Linked DNA regions of Homo sapiens: regions 1 and 3 are each linked to region 2. Evidence: promoter capture Hi-C in 16 types of primary human blood cells and fetal thymus (Javierre and others, 2016). All regions are on one chromosome and are shown on one strand. Each heading gives the region's core, a stretch centred on a gene start or on the middle of the fragment in contact. The rest is flanking DNA. Distances are from core to core; before and after follow the strand shown. Region 1 overlaps C1orf159 (chromosome 1 open reading frame 159). Region 2 holds the start of DVL1 (dishevelled segment polarity protein 1). Region 3 overlaps LOC124903820 (a long non-coding RNA gene).

Region 1 (4,209 bases), core at 289-2,788, 240 kb after region 2:
AACCTGGGAAACCCTCGCAGAGGGAGCCGGTTTTGAGCCCCAGGGTAGGGGCGGCCGCCTGGGATGTTCAGTGATGCGCCTGATTACTCAGGTTTATGTTCCCCGTTTGCATTCAGCCAGGATCCGTCATGGCCACGTTGTTTTTAACATACATGTTTATGAATTATACAGAAACGTTGTTTTCCTGACACACATCCCGCCCCCAGTACTCCTCCTAAAAGCCAGTCAGGCAGGTGTTTCCACACGCAGTCACCTCAGCCCTGGGGTGCACAGGCAGCATCCCGGGAACCCCTGAGATACCTCCCAGCTGCTCCCTGCCTTGCGGCTGCTCTCCACCTGAGCTTTGACTTACTGGGTAGCTCATTTAAAGAACAGCTAGCGCTGTGGGTGCTGGGGTGGGAGATCGCTTGAGACCAGTCTGGGCAACATAGGGAGACCTCGTCTCTATAAAAAATAAAAAATATTATCCAGGCATGGGGGCAAGCACCTGTGGCCCGTTACAGTAGGTAGCTAGTCAGACATGAGCAGGGCAGAAGAGGGGCCCCCCTCTACCAGGGACATTTGGCTGGTAAGAGAAGGCGGCCCTGGCTGTGCGCGGTGGCTCACACCTGTAATCCCAGCACTTTGCAAGGCCGTGGGGGGAGGGGGGCGGATCAGAAGGCCAGGAGTTTGAGATCAGCCTGGCGAATATGGTGAAACCCCGTCTCTGATAAAAATACAAAAATTAGCCGGGCATGGTGGCGGGCGCCTGTGGTCCCAGCTACTCAGGAGGCTGAGGCAGGAGAATCGCTTGAACTCGGGAGGCGGAGGTTGCAGTGAGCCGAGATTGCGCCACTGCACTGCAGCCTGGGTGACAGAGCGAGACTCCATCTCAAAAAAAAAAAAAAAAAAAAAGGCCTCGAGGGAGCGTGCGCACAACTCCAGTAAACTCTGTGCATGCTCCCTCCCAAGTGCCCGCAGCCGCTGTGCGGGTGGACGGCCCACCCCGAGGGAAGAATCGGGAGACGTAACACCCCGGAAGCCTCCAGCGTGGAAGACCCTAAGTCAAAGGTCAAACTGCGCACTTGATCTCTCAGGTCTCCTGCCTGGCCTTCTTCCAAGGGCGCTTTACTTCCTTTCATTCCTGCTCTAAAGCTTCTTCATAAACTGTTGCTCCTGCTCTAAGGTCTCTTCTGCCTCCTACCCGTCCATCAAACTCTTCTGAGGAGGGAAAAATTGAGGTTCACTGCTGCTAACATGCTTTGGTGTCAGAAGTGGGACATATTCTGCCACTAACAGTCCCAGCTACTCGAGGGACTGAGGCAGGAGGATCGCTTCAGCCCCGGAGGTGGAGACTGCAGTGAGCCGAGATCGCAACGATGCACTCCAGCCTGTTTCACAAAGAAAAGAAAGAGCCACCTCTTCTCACCACTCTGGCTGAGGGTTGCGTGTGCCGAGGTGGAGTGTGGAGCTCAGGTGAGCCTTCAGAGCTCTATTACTGGCAGAATGTATCTGAGTTTCAGCACCAAAGTATGTCAGCAGCGGCCTCGATTCTCGCTGCCTCAGAAGAAAGAATTTGATGGAAGGACATGAGGCTGAAGGAGAGACTGAGGCAAGTTTTTTTTTTTTTTTTGAGATGGAGTCTGTCTCTGTCGCCCAGGCTGGAGTGCAGTGGCACAATCTCGGCTCACTGCAAGCTCTGCCTCCCGGGTTCATGTCATTCTCCTGCCTCAGCCTCCCGAGTAGCTGGGACTACAGGTGCCTGCCACCACAACCGGCTAATTTTTTGTATTTTAGTAGAGAAGGGGTTTCTGCATTTTGGTCAGGCTGGTCTCGAACTCCCAACCTCAGATGATCCACCCACCTCAGCCTCCCAAAGTGCTGGGATCACAGGCGTGAGCCACCGCACCCCACCGACTAAGGCAAGTTTTAGAGCAGGAGTGAAAGTTGTTGAAGAAGCTTTAGAGCAGGAAGGAAAGGAAGTACCCTTGGAGGAGGGCCAGACGGGCGATGTGAGAGATCAGGTGTGCGGTTTCACCTTTTGACTTGGGGTTTTATAGCCTGGCAGGCTTCTGGGGTCTTGCACCCCTTCTCCCCTGATCCTTCTTCAGGGTGGGCTGTCCACCCATGCAGCATCTTGCTAGTACTTGGGCGGGAGCATGCGCCATGTGTTCCCTGGAGGGAGGGAGCATGCCCGGTGTGTTCACTGGAGGGAGGGAGCATGCCCCGTGTATTCACTGGGGGGAGGGAGCATGCGCTGTGTGTTCACTGGAGGGAGGGAGCGTGCGCGTTGTGTTCACTGGAGGGAGGGAGCATGTGCCGTGTGTTCACTGGAGGGAGGTAGCATGTGCCGTGTGTTCACTGGAAGGAGGGAGCATGCGCTGTGTGTTCACTGGAGGGAGGGAGCGTGTGCGTTGTGTTCACTGGAGGGAGGGACCGTGCGCCGTGTGTTCACTGGAGTAGTGCCCATGCTCACCTGAGGCGTTCTTCCGTTACCTGTCAAACGTCCCTAGAAGGTCATAGAACGGTTACACGCCGCCATTTTGCCTCTCAGTGCACACGCTTGAGCCAACTCGCCCAGTTCCTGAGATCGTATCGGGAAGCTGCCCATCACCGGATTTCATGTGTTTTCTAGCTATTGGGAGCCTGTCTTTCCCTGGCGCTGGGTGCAACCAGTTCTTTTAGACAGTTAACAGCCACCTGACCATCACCTGATGGTGGCCTGACATTCCCGGTGGGGGGATGGGCCCGATCCTGCCCTGCTCACGTCTGCTGAGCCACCTACGGCAACCGCCCGACTCCGGTGTGCTGAGCCCACGGGTAGGTGGGCAGCGACTACCATGCATGTCAACAAAGGGGGATGTCTCCTTTACACCCCATCAAGGGGTTTGCGGTATTTGTTTTCTATCAAAGCACGAGAGGGATCTTTAGGTAGAGAGGCCCCAGACAGTTCTTATTGGGCCCTTAAAGCTACGTTTCACGTTGGCTTCCTTTGCTTGCTACGAAGATGACCAGCATTAGCTACACGGATGCAGTGGAAGCTCCAGCCAGCCCTCGGGGCTGTGTTTACCGAGGTTCAGCAGCGTGAGAAACCCGCCAGTGGACCCTCCCGCCTCCCCTTTTCAGTTACTGCTGCCTGGGCGGCTGGAGTTACGGTGAGCGTGGGTGTGGTCTACCCACTGCCCCAGCCGGTGGTTGCTTTTACAGGGTTGTTTTGCAAGATGTTACTTATTTAAAATCACAGTGACCTGAGGCATCATTTTTTTCTTGAAACCAGTTCTTTGTTGTTGTTGTTGAGACGGGGTCTGGCTCTGTCGCCCAGGTAGAGTGCAGTGGTGCGATCATGGCTCACTGTAGCCTTGACCTCCCAGGCTCAAGAGATTCTTTCACTTCAGCCTCCCAAATAGCTGGGACCACAAGTATACGTCACCAAGCCCAGCTATTTTTTTTTTTTTTTTTTTTTGGTAGAGATGAGATCTCACTCTGTTGTCCGGGCTGGTTTTGAACTCCTGGGCTCAAGCGATCCTCCCACCTTGGCCTCCCAAAATGATGGGATTGCAGGCCTGAGCCTCCACACCTGCCCTGAAACCAGTTCTTCTAAGGGAAAATAAGAGTGGTCAAAGAGTGTATAGCACAATTTAAATTCTCACTAAATTTTTCATTGCCTTGTAGAAATTTTCATCCCATTATTTAGCTTTTTGGCTCCAATGAGATTTTCAAAATAGAAAATGCATGTGTTTAGTTACTAAGGCATAATTTACATGCAGTGAAACACACAGAGCTTGTGTCCAGTTCAATTGTTTTGACAAAGGATTCACCAGACTCCTGTCGTGATGTAGAATCTGCCTGTGATCCATGGAGATTGCCTCGCAGGCTGCTCCAGCGCCCGCCTGCCGCGCCAGACAGGAGCGCTGCTGTGATTTTACCGACACTCTGAGTGTTAGGAGTCACACGTGCGGGCGGTTTTGCGTCTGCCACGGCTCACGCAGAGAACTGTTGTTGAGCTTCCTCTGAGGTGCTGCACAAGGAGTGGGTGTGGGATGCGCTGTTGCGTGCTCGTCGTCTCTGAGGGCGCCCGGGTGGGTTTCCGCTGTCTGAAGAGTTGGGCCTATTTTTGTGCACGTGTTTGGCGGGCGTGTGTTGTTTCTCTTGGGAACGTGCCCGGGGGGAAGGCTGCATCCCAGGTGTGGAAGTCCCAGCGGTTCTGTGTGTCCCCACAGCCGAGAGGCT
Region 2 (3,881 bases), core at 737-3,236:
CCCGTCCAGGCCCCCTCCTCACTCCCCCCGTCGCTCCTGCCCCGTCCAGGCCCCCTCCTCACTCCCCCCGTCGCTCCTGCCCCGTCCAGGCCCCCTCCTCACTCCCCCCGTCGCTCCTGCCCGGTCCAGGCCCCCTCCTCACTCCCCCCGTCGCTCCTGCCCCGTCCAGGCCCCCTCCTCACTCCCCCCGTCGCTCCTGCCCCGTCCAGGCCCCCTCCTCACTCCCCCCGTCGCTCCAGCCCCGTCCAGGCCCCCTCCTCACTCCCCCCGTCGCTCCTGCCCCGTCCAGGCCCCCTCCTCACTCCCCCCGTCGCTCCTGCCCCGTCCAGGCCCCCTCCTCACTCCCCCCGTCGCTCCTGCCCGGTCCAGGCCCCCTCCTCACTCCCCCCGTCGCTCCTGCCCGGTCCAGGCCCCCTCCTCACTCCCCCCGTCGCTCCTGCCCCGTCCAGGCCCCCTCCTCACTCCCCCCGTCGCTCCTGCCCCGTCCAGGCCCCCTCCTCACTCCCCCCGTCGCTCCTGCCCCGTCCAGGCCCCCTCCTCACTCCCCCCGTCGCTCCTGCCCCGTCCAGGCCCCCTCCTCACTCCCCCCGTCGCTCCTGCCCGGTCCAGGCCCCCTCCTCACTCCCCCCGTCGCTCCTGCCCCGTCCAGGCCCCCTCCTCACTCCCCCCGTCGCTCCTGCCCCGTCCAGGCCCCCTCCTCACTCCCCCCGTCGCTCCTGCCCCGTCCAGGCCCCCTCCTCACTCCCCCCGTCGCTCCTGCCCCGTCCAGGCCCCCTCCTCACTCCCCCCGTCGCTCCTGCCCCGTCCAGGCCCCCTCCTCACTCCCCCCGTCGCTCCTGCCCCGTCCAGGCCCCCTCCTCACTCCCCCCGTCGCTCCTGCCCCGTCCAGGCCCCCTCCTCACTCCCCCCGTCGCTCCTGCCCCGTCCAGGCCCCCTCCTCACTCCCCCCGTCGCTCCTGCCCGGTCCAGGCCCCCTCCTCACTCCCCCCGTCGCTCCTGCCCGGTCCAGGCCCCCTCCTCACTCCCCCCGTCGCTCCAGCCCCGTCCAGGCCCCCTCCTCACTCCCCCCGTCGCTCCTGCCCCGTCCAGGCCCCCTCCTCACTCCCCCCGTCGCTCCTGCCCCGTCCAGGCCCCCTCCTCACTCCCCCCGTCGCTCCTGCCCCGTCCAGGCCCCCTCCTCACTCCCCCCGTCGCTCCTGCCCCGTCCAGGCCCCCTCCTCACTCCCCCCGTCGCTCCTGCCCCGTCCAGGCCCCCTCCTCACTCCCCCCGTCGCTCCTGCCCCGTCCAGGCCCCCTCCTCACTCCCCCCGTCGCTCCTGCCCCGTCCAGGCCCCCTCCTCACTCCCCCCGTCGCTCCTGCCCCGTCCAGGCCCCCTCCTCACTCCCCCCGTCGCTCCTGCCCCGTCCAGGCCCCCTCCTCACTCCTCCCATCCTGGGCCGCCCTCTAGTGGCCTCCGCGCTTCCTGCTGGGGTCGGGTCGGGAAGGCCTCCAGCCCCGCGAGCCCCGGAACAGTAAGCGCGGACGCCCCGCGGCCTCAAGGGACGCCTCGGAAGTCTCCCCTGCCCTGCGGAGAACCCCAGGACTAAATCCCTCCCGCCGCCGGGCGCTCCGACGCCTCCGTGCACGCCCGCGCCCCCGCGCGCCCCGCATCCGCTCGGCCTGCTGCCTGGACCCCGTGGGACCCGGCAGAGGGCACGCGAGTCGGGAGCCTTCGCGGTGGCGCAGAGCGACCGGGCGCCACCTCAGCGCCGCGCACCCGGCGTCCCCGGGGTCCCTCCGCCCGACCCGAGCGCCCCGGCGCCCACGGGCCCACAGCCAGCGGCGCGCGTCGCATGCGCCGGATCATAATGGAGCGCGGGCCCGCGCGCGGGGGCGGGGCCGGGGCGGGGCGGGGCGAGCGATGATCGCCTGCGTCTGCGCATCCTCGCCCCGCCCCCGCCGTGCGCCCCCGTGACGTCAACGCCGCGCGCTCGGGCGCCCCCCCGCGGCCACGCTCAGGACCCCGGGCCGGGCGGTCCCTTTAACGGCGCGGCCCGAGGGGCGCAGGCGGGAGGGCGGCGGGGCTGAGCGCGCCCTCCGTGCTGCGTCCCTCGCGCCGCTCCCGGGCCGGGGGCGGATGGGCGGCCGCGGGCCGCGGGGCAGCAGTCGGGACGCGCGCGGGAGCCGGGGGCGGCGGCCGGGGCCTGGGCGGTCGGGCGGGGGCGCCCGGGGGCCTCGGAGCGTCGGGGCCGAGAGCGGTGCGGGCCGGGCGGGGCGCAGGCGGGCGGGCGGGTAGCGCCCCGCGTCCGAGCCCCGGGCCGGGCCCTGAGCGCGCGGGCTCCGCGCCGCCGCCGCGCCATGGCGGAGACCAAGATTATCTACCACATGGACGAGGAGGAGACGCCGTACCTGGTCAAGCTGCCCGTGGCCCCCGAGCGCGTCACGCTGGCCGACTTCAAGAACGTGCTCAGCAACCGGCCCGTGCACGCCTACAAATTCTTCTTTAAGTCCATGGACCAGGACTTCGGGTCAGTCGGCCGCGAGGCCTGCGCGAGCCTGGCGCGGGCTCGGGGGTCGCACCTGCCCGCGCGGGGACGGGGCGGGGGTCCTGAGCCGTTCGCGCCCCCGGGGACCTGCGACCGCGACGCGCCTCCGCTAGATGCGGCGCGGGTGGCGGCCTCGGCCCGTGTGCGGCGCGCGCCCACCTGTCCGTGGAGCGGGGCGATGGCAGGCGGGGTTCCCGGCGTCCCTGGCCCCAGCTTCCCGGCCCCGAGTCCTGCCTTGGCCCGTGTCAGACTCGGTCGGCCGCATCGCTTCCACCGGGGCTGGCCGGGAGCGCCTGCCGTTGGTGCGGGCTGGGGTCAGGGGCGTGTCAGTGGGAAGGAAGCAGGGTGGGGTTCCCTAGCTGGGATGGGGAGACATGGGGGTACAGGTTCACCAACCTGTCTGCTAGGGTTTGCAGAAGCTTCCCGAGGGTCAAGACAGGTTCTCCTGGCCCCCTTCTGCAGGGTCCTTGTGACAGGGTGGAGGTCAAGGGCCACTGGTGACCATGAAACTTTATTCGCCTACCCGTGTCCTGAGCTTCCTGTGGGCCCCGTCCCCACTGAGCCACAAAGCACTTGCGTTCCCGGAGCAGCCCAGACCATCTGCTGTTTCGGGGCAGCCTGGGTCAGCGTCTCCCTGCTGGGCCTCGGTGGTGGTGTCCCAGGCGAGGAGACCCCTGCTGTGCTGAGCTGGGCCCTCTGGGACAGGGAGCAGGAGCCTGGCGGTCTGCTTGAGGCCTGGCCTGGCCCGGCCCAGCCACCAGTAACCTGAGTCCCTAGTCCCAGCTCAACAGTGCTGGGGGCGGGCTCAGGCCTCGTGGCCCCAGGAGGTGAGCCTCCGGCAAGCGGTGTCCTTGTGTGTGGCCGCTTCTTGGGATTGTGACATTAAGGTTGTTTCTTGGATTCTGTGGTTGCAGGGTCCTCAGGCAGCCCCAGGTCCAGTCAGGCTGGGTCCGCTCTGGAGCTCTCAGGGGGGCCCAAGGGACATCTAGACAGCTGTACTTTCCTTCCCCACCCCCACGACCAGGCAAAGCAGAGAGGGCAGGGTGCGTCCTTGGCAGCCTTTGAAGGCTGGGCGCTCCCCACTCGGCTCAGCGGCCCTCCTGCCCGCTCCGGTCAGGTTGGGCAGGAGGGGGCGGTTTGTTTTCTGAGTCTGGTCCGGGCTCCTCCCCAGCTGGGGCACCTTGCAGTCCCTGCTTCTCTGGGCCTGGGCTGCTTTGGCCTTGAGCATGGGGCATGTGTCAGGTACTTTTGTTTTTGACTTAGTTTATTATTCTAACGAAAGTTACCAAAGTTACTAATGCTGTTTGTTGCAAATGTGTGCCACCAGGAAATGCGTAGTGAGGAGGTGCCCAGCC
Region 3 (3,989 bases), core at 190-2,689, 220 kb after region 2:
GTGAGAAAATACATTTCTGTTGCTTAAGTCCCCAGGCTCGGTATTTTGTTCCAGCAGCTGGAGCTAGGACAACCCCAGACGCACCCGGCCAGCCCTGAGGGAGGGCGTTCACCGGCTTCCCATACGCATTGTAGGAGGCCGCATGGGCACCCTCCTCAGCCCTGGGCACCCTTGTCGTACCTGACAACCCTGTGTAGATTCCCTGCAAGCATCCAGGGTCCAAGGCGGCCGCAGGCTCCTCAGACAAAGGGCTTCCTCCACACATGGGCTCAGGGCTACGGGCTCCCTGACATCGACCTCCCCGGCAGCCGCCCTGGTGTTTCTCCCATTTGCCAGCGGACACATCCCAGGTGACACCCCACCTCGGAAGAGGCCCTCCTGGCAGGTGCCTGGCCCCAATGCCCAACGCAGGGCTCGCGGCGGCGATGGCGGCGGGTCTCAGGCAGGAGTGGGATCTCTCTGCTGTCCGGTCCTGCCCCTTGCCCCTGAGAGGCCCCACAACCCCACCCCCAGCACACCCTGCATGGGCACCCCCGTCTCAGGCTCTGCCTCCCGTGCCCTGACCCTGGGCGCAGAGGGCCACGTGCCTGTGACTCCGCTTCCCTGGCGGTGAGGGGTCCGGCCTTGTGTCCCATGACTCGGGCTCTGCTCCCTGACGACCTCGCTGGGGCTGCCCCCACCCTTCCGTGGAGTCCTTTGCGACGGTTTCTAAGGGCTCAGAGTGCAGCATTGATTTCAACCATGTGTCTCTGTCATTAAAATAGTCCCCTGACTTTGCCTGTGGAATGTTTTGCTCTCTTCCCATTTTAAGTTAAATGTGGTCAGTGTGACGGAAGGAAATGCGGGTTTTTCTCCAGACCGTCTTGTGCAAGGAGAAGAAGCCTTGAAAAGAAGAGGCACAAACTATCAGGAACGTCCTCGAAGAGATGAGCGAAAGCACGTGGCCACAGAAAACCATGAGGATGCAACAGAAAGAACGACTCCGAGGGGCCGGGCGTGGCGGCTCACGCCTGTCATCCCAGCACTATGGGAGGCCGAGGCGGGCGGATCATGAGGTCAGGAGATCGAGACCATCCTGGCCGACACGGTGAAACCCCGTCTCTACTAAAAATACAAAAAATTAGCCAGGCATGGTGGTGGGCACCTGTAGTCCCAGCTACTCGGGAGGCTGAGGCAGGAGAATGGCGTGAACCAGGAGGCGGAGCTTGCAGTGAGCCGAGATCACATCACTGCACTCCAGCCTGGGCGACAGAGCGAGACTCCGTCTTAAAAAGAATGACTCCGAGGACAGAAACGAAAAGCGCTGGAAGGGACGGAGCCAGGACGTTCCCCGAACGTGACGTGAAAAGGCAAAGAAAATGGGATAGAAAAGGTGATTAGAGGACCTGCTCCAAATTGCAGCAATATTCACCAGAGAAAGAGAGAGCAACAACAAAAAGAAAAGATAAAGAACAAAATCATTTAAAAATTGTAATTCAAGAACATTTCCTGGAGCCGAAGCTCAGGCATTTCCAGACAGAAAGAGCCACTGAGGACCCCGTGAAAGGGATGAAAACGGAACCACACAAAGATCCACCTTCACAGGACAGCAGAGATGGAGACAAAAAGAAGGCCCCAAAAACTTTCAGGAAAAAACCCGCAGAAACAGGTTCCATACCAAGGCCCCGGGGTTGGGATGCCATTGCCGGACCCACAGCAGCCTCGGGAGCCGGGGACCCTGCGGCGAGGTTTTCTCAACTCGCAGGGAAGCGAAGGCCTTGGTGGGGGCCCGCCCTGTGCCCTTCACAGGCAGCTGCAGCTGTGGGCGTGGTGGGGGCCCACCCCCTGCACCTCACGGGGAGCTGCGAGGGGCTTGTTCCACCAAAACACTGAGAAGACAAGAAAGGGGAGGTGTGGGGCCCGGGAAAATCCCACCCAGGGGAGAAGCAATGGGACCTTTGTGACACGGACCACGAAGCCTGCAAGACGCCAGCCCTGCCCCAGGCCCGAGGGAGCCGACCAGCCCCGGGCAGGGCAGGAGGCTCCCGGAGGCCCCTCAGAAATACCTGGCGTGCCGGAATTTAAGTCATGGGGGAGAGTCTGAGGCTGAATTAGTAATGAGTTCAGAGAAAGCTAAGCAAGAAGAAAAGCAAAGGCGATTATTAACTTCAGGGAAACAGCTCAGAGTTCGGGTGAGAACAGGCGGCCACGGTGGACCTGGCACCAAGCTAGTCCCCGGCGCCCAGCAGAGTGACAGCAGAGACCAGGCGCGGCGCGTGACGGCGGGACGAGAGGTGGGAGGGCGGCAAACAGCCCCTTCCACAGGGCAGATTCAGGGCTGACCCTGAAGCTGGAGTGCTGAGAAGCTGCCGTTTGCCAGTGACGTTGGAAGTAAACACAGGAGCCTCCCAGCACACGGAGCTGGTGGCCTCGGCGCGGCCTGAAGATCATATGTGTCCAAGCCTTGCAGAAGTGTTTGACTCTCAAGCAACCTACAGGCATAACTGGTTTTTTTTTTTTTTTTTTTTTTTTTTTTTTGAGACAGAGTCTCACTCTGTTGCCCAGGCTGGAGGGCAATGGTGCCATCTGAGCTCACTGCAACCTCCGCCTTCCAGGTGCAAGCGATTGTCCTGCCTCAGCCTCCAGAGTAGCTGGAATTATAGGTGCCCGCCACCACATCCAGCTAATTTTTTTGTATTTTTAGTAGAGACAGGGTTTCATCATGCTGACCACGCTTGTCTCGAACTCCTGACCTCAAGTGATCCGCCCGCCTTGACCTCCCAAATGCGAACCACTGTGTCCGGCCACAAGCATAACTTTGATAGAAAAGGCAATAACAAATTAAGTTGGTGCGAGCTTTACCCTCTGAGTCCTCGGAATCATTTTTAAAACATAAAGGTTTCCAGAACTCACAGCTGTGAACTTAACTGTTCTCAAGGGGGTATCTTTGATTGATTTTCCTAACTCTTCTACGATAATCGGCCTTTTCCCCTCTTCTGCTTCCTCTCGTTCTGGCAGCCGATGCTCACATCCATAACAGTGTCTGTTTCCCTGGATTTTCCCATCCCAGGGCCACGCAGAGTGCAGCTCCCCTACACGGCCACGGCATTCTGTCCCTCTGTCGCGTGGCCATGCGTGGCTCAGTGCCGTGGGAGCCTCTCCGTGTCTGAGGCCGAGGGCAGGCTGGTGCCCCATTCGCTCTGTGCCTCACAGGCGGCCCTGATGCTCTGTGCTCCAAATCTCTGCAGGACTGGATTTCGGCCGGGACAGAGGAGGCTGTGCCCCCACCCACGTTGTTCCCAATGCCCACGCACCTTGTCAACTGGAATAAATTTGGTTTCCCTGCAAGAGCTCTCTGCCAGGAAATGTAAATCATGGCTTCTCAGTCTCTCTCCCCCTCTGAGGGCCCCCTGGCTGGGTCATTCACAGGCCCCGAGGAACTCTGGGGCCTTCGCAGCCATCTTTTCCTACAGGAACCCCCAGACACCCATAATCATCACGGGGACCCAAGACCCCAGCTTCTCCCGGGGGGCACATGGTCACCCTGTGGCCCCCTCCAGGCATCTCCGCTCAGGCTGTGGGACCCCAGGCCCGGCCCACCTGGCCAGCACAGCCCTGCAGGCCCCAGCTGACCCTCACCACCCCCCAGCCAATAGCAGAAGCCGCCAGCCCTGGGGAAGGCCCTCCGGCTGAATCCCTCCTCTTCTGAGGCCTTGCCCTCCCCGCGGGCTCCGCCTGCCACAACTGTGCCCTGGGCTCACCAGCGGGACCCCCAGGTCCTCCCCAGCACACCATGGAGGCCCCTAAGGGCTGGGCCTTGGCCAGGCGACTGGGGAGGGGCTGGTCCCGGAAGAAAAGCTTTGTGGGGCCGTGGGTGCGGGGGCTTTCGGCTCATCAGAAGCCACCAGCCCTTGAGACAAAACCTCCCAGACGCTGTGGGTCAGACCCACAGAGCCTCAGTCCTACCTGGTCCTGGGAGGGCGGAGGGCGGTGTGGGCCTGGTCCCAGGA

Evidence for each region. Contacts are between HindIII fragments. The CHiCAGO score rates a contact against its expected background, and 5 or more counts as called.
Region 1: a fragment that was not itself captured here is called in contact with the fragment with the promoter of DVL1 in region 2 in 9 of 17 cell types (activated CD4 T cells, total CD4 T cells, fetal thymus and 6 more); the score reaches 9.9 in activated CD4 T cells.
Region 3: a fragment that was not itself captured here is called in contact with the fragment with the promoter of DVL1 in region 2 in 4 of 17 cell types (M0 macrophages, non-activated CD4 T cells, naive CD4 T cells and 1 more); the score reaches 6.3 in M0 macrophages.

Annotation. Positions count from the first base shown.
Region 1 is chr1:1,110,599-1,114,807 of GRCh38, reverse strand. All of the region lies in intron 1 of C1orf159 (chromosome 1 open reading frame 159), which reads left to right. Among named protein-coding and RNA genes, the nearest start is that of C1orf159, 3.4 kb to the left of the region's middle. RefSeq lists enhancers at 2,005-2,299, 2,518-3,019. The HindIII fragment of the contact is 804 bases long and covers 1,137-1,940 here.
Region 2 is chr1:1,347,523-1,351,403 of GRCh38, reverse strand. DVL1 (dishevelled segment polarity protein 1) reads left to right here and starts at 1,986. Exons shown (of 15, transcript NM_001330311.2): 1 at 1,986-2,508. The coding sequence starts at 2,339. RefSeq lists silencers at 1,365-1,514, 1,535-1,854, 1,955-2,134, 3,295-3,471 and enhancers at 3,024-3,653, 3,654-3,881. The HindIII fragment of the contact is 21,682 bases long and covers 1-2,947 here.
Region 3 is chr1:1,128,715-1,132,703 of GRCh38, reverse strand. It overlaps LOC124903820 (a long non-coding RNA gene), which reads right to left. Exons shown (of 3, transcript XR_007065351.1): 1 at 3,946-3,989. It overlaps LOC124903819 (a long non-coding RNA gene), which reads left to right and starts at 3,720. Exons shown (of 2, transcript XR_007065349.1): 1 at 3,720-3,989. The HindIII fragment of the contact is 4,801 bases long and covers 1-3,839 here.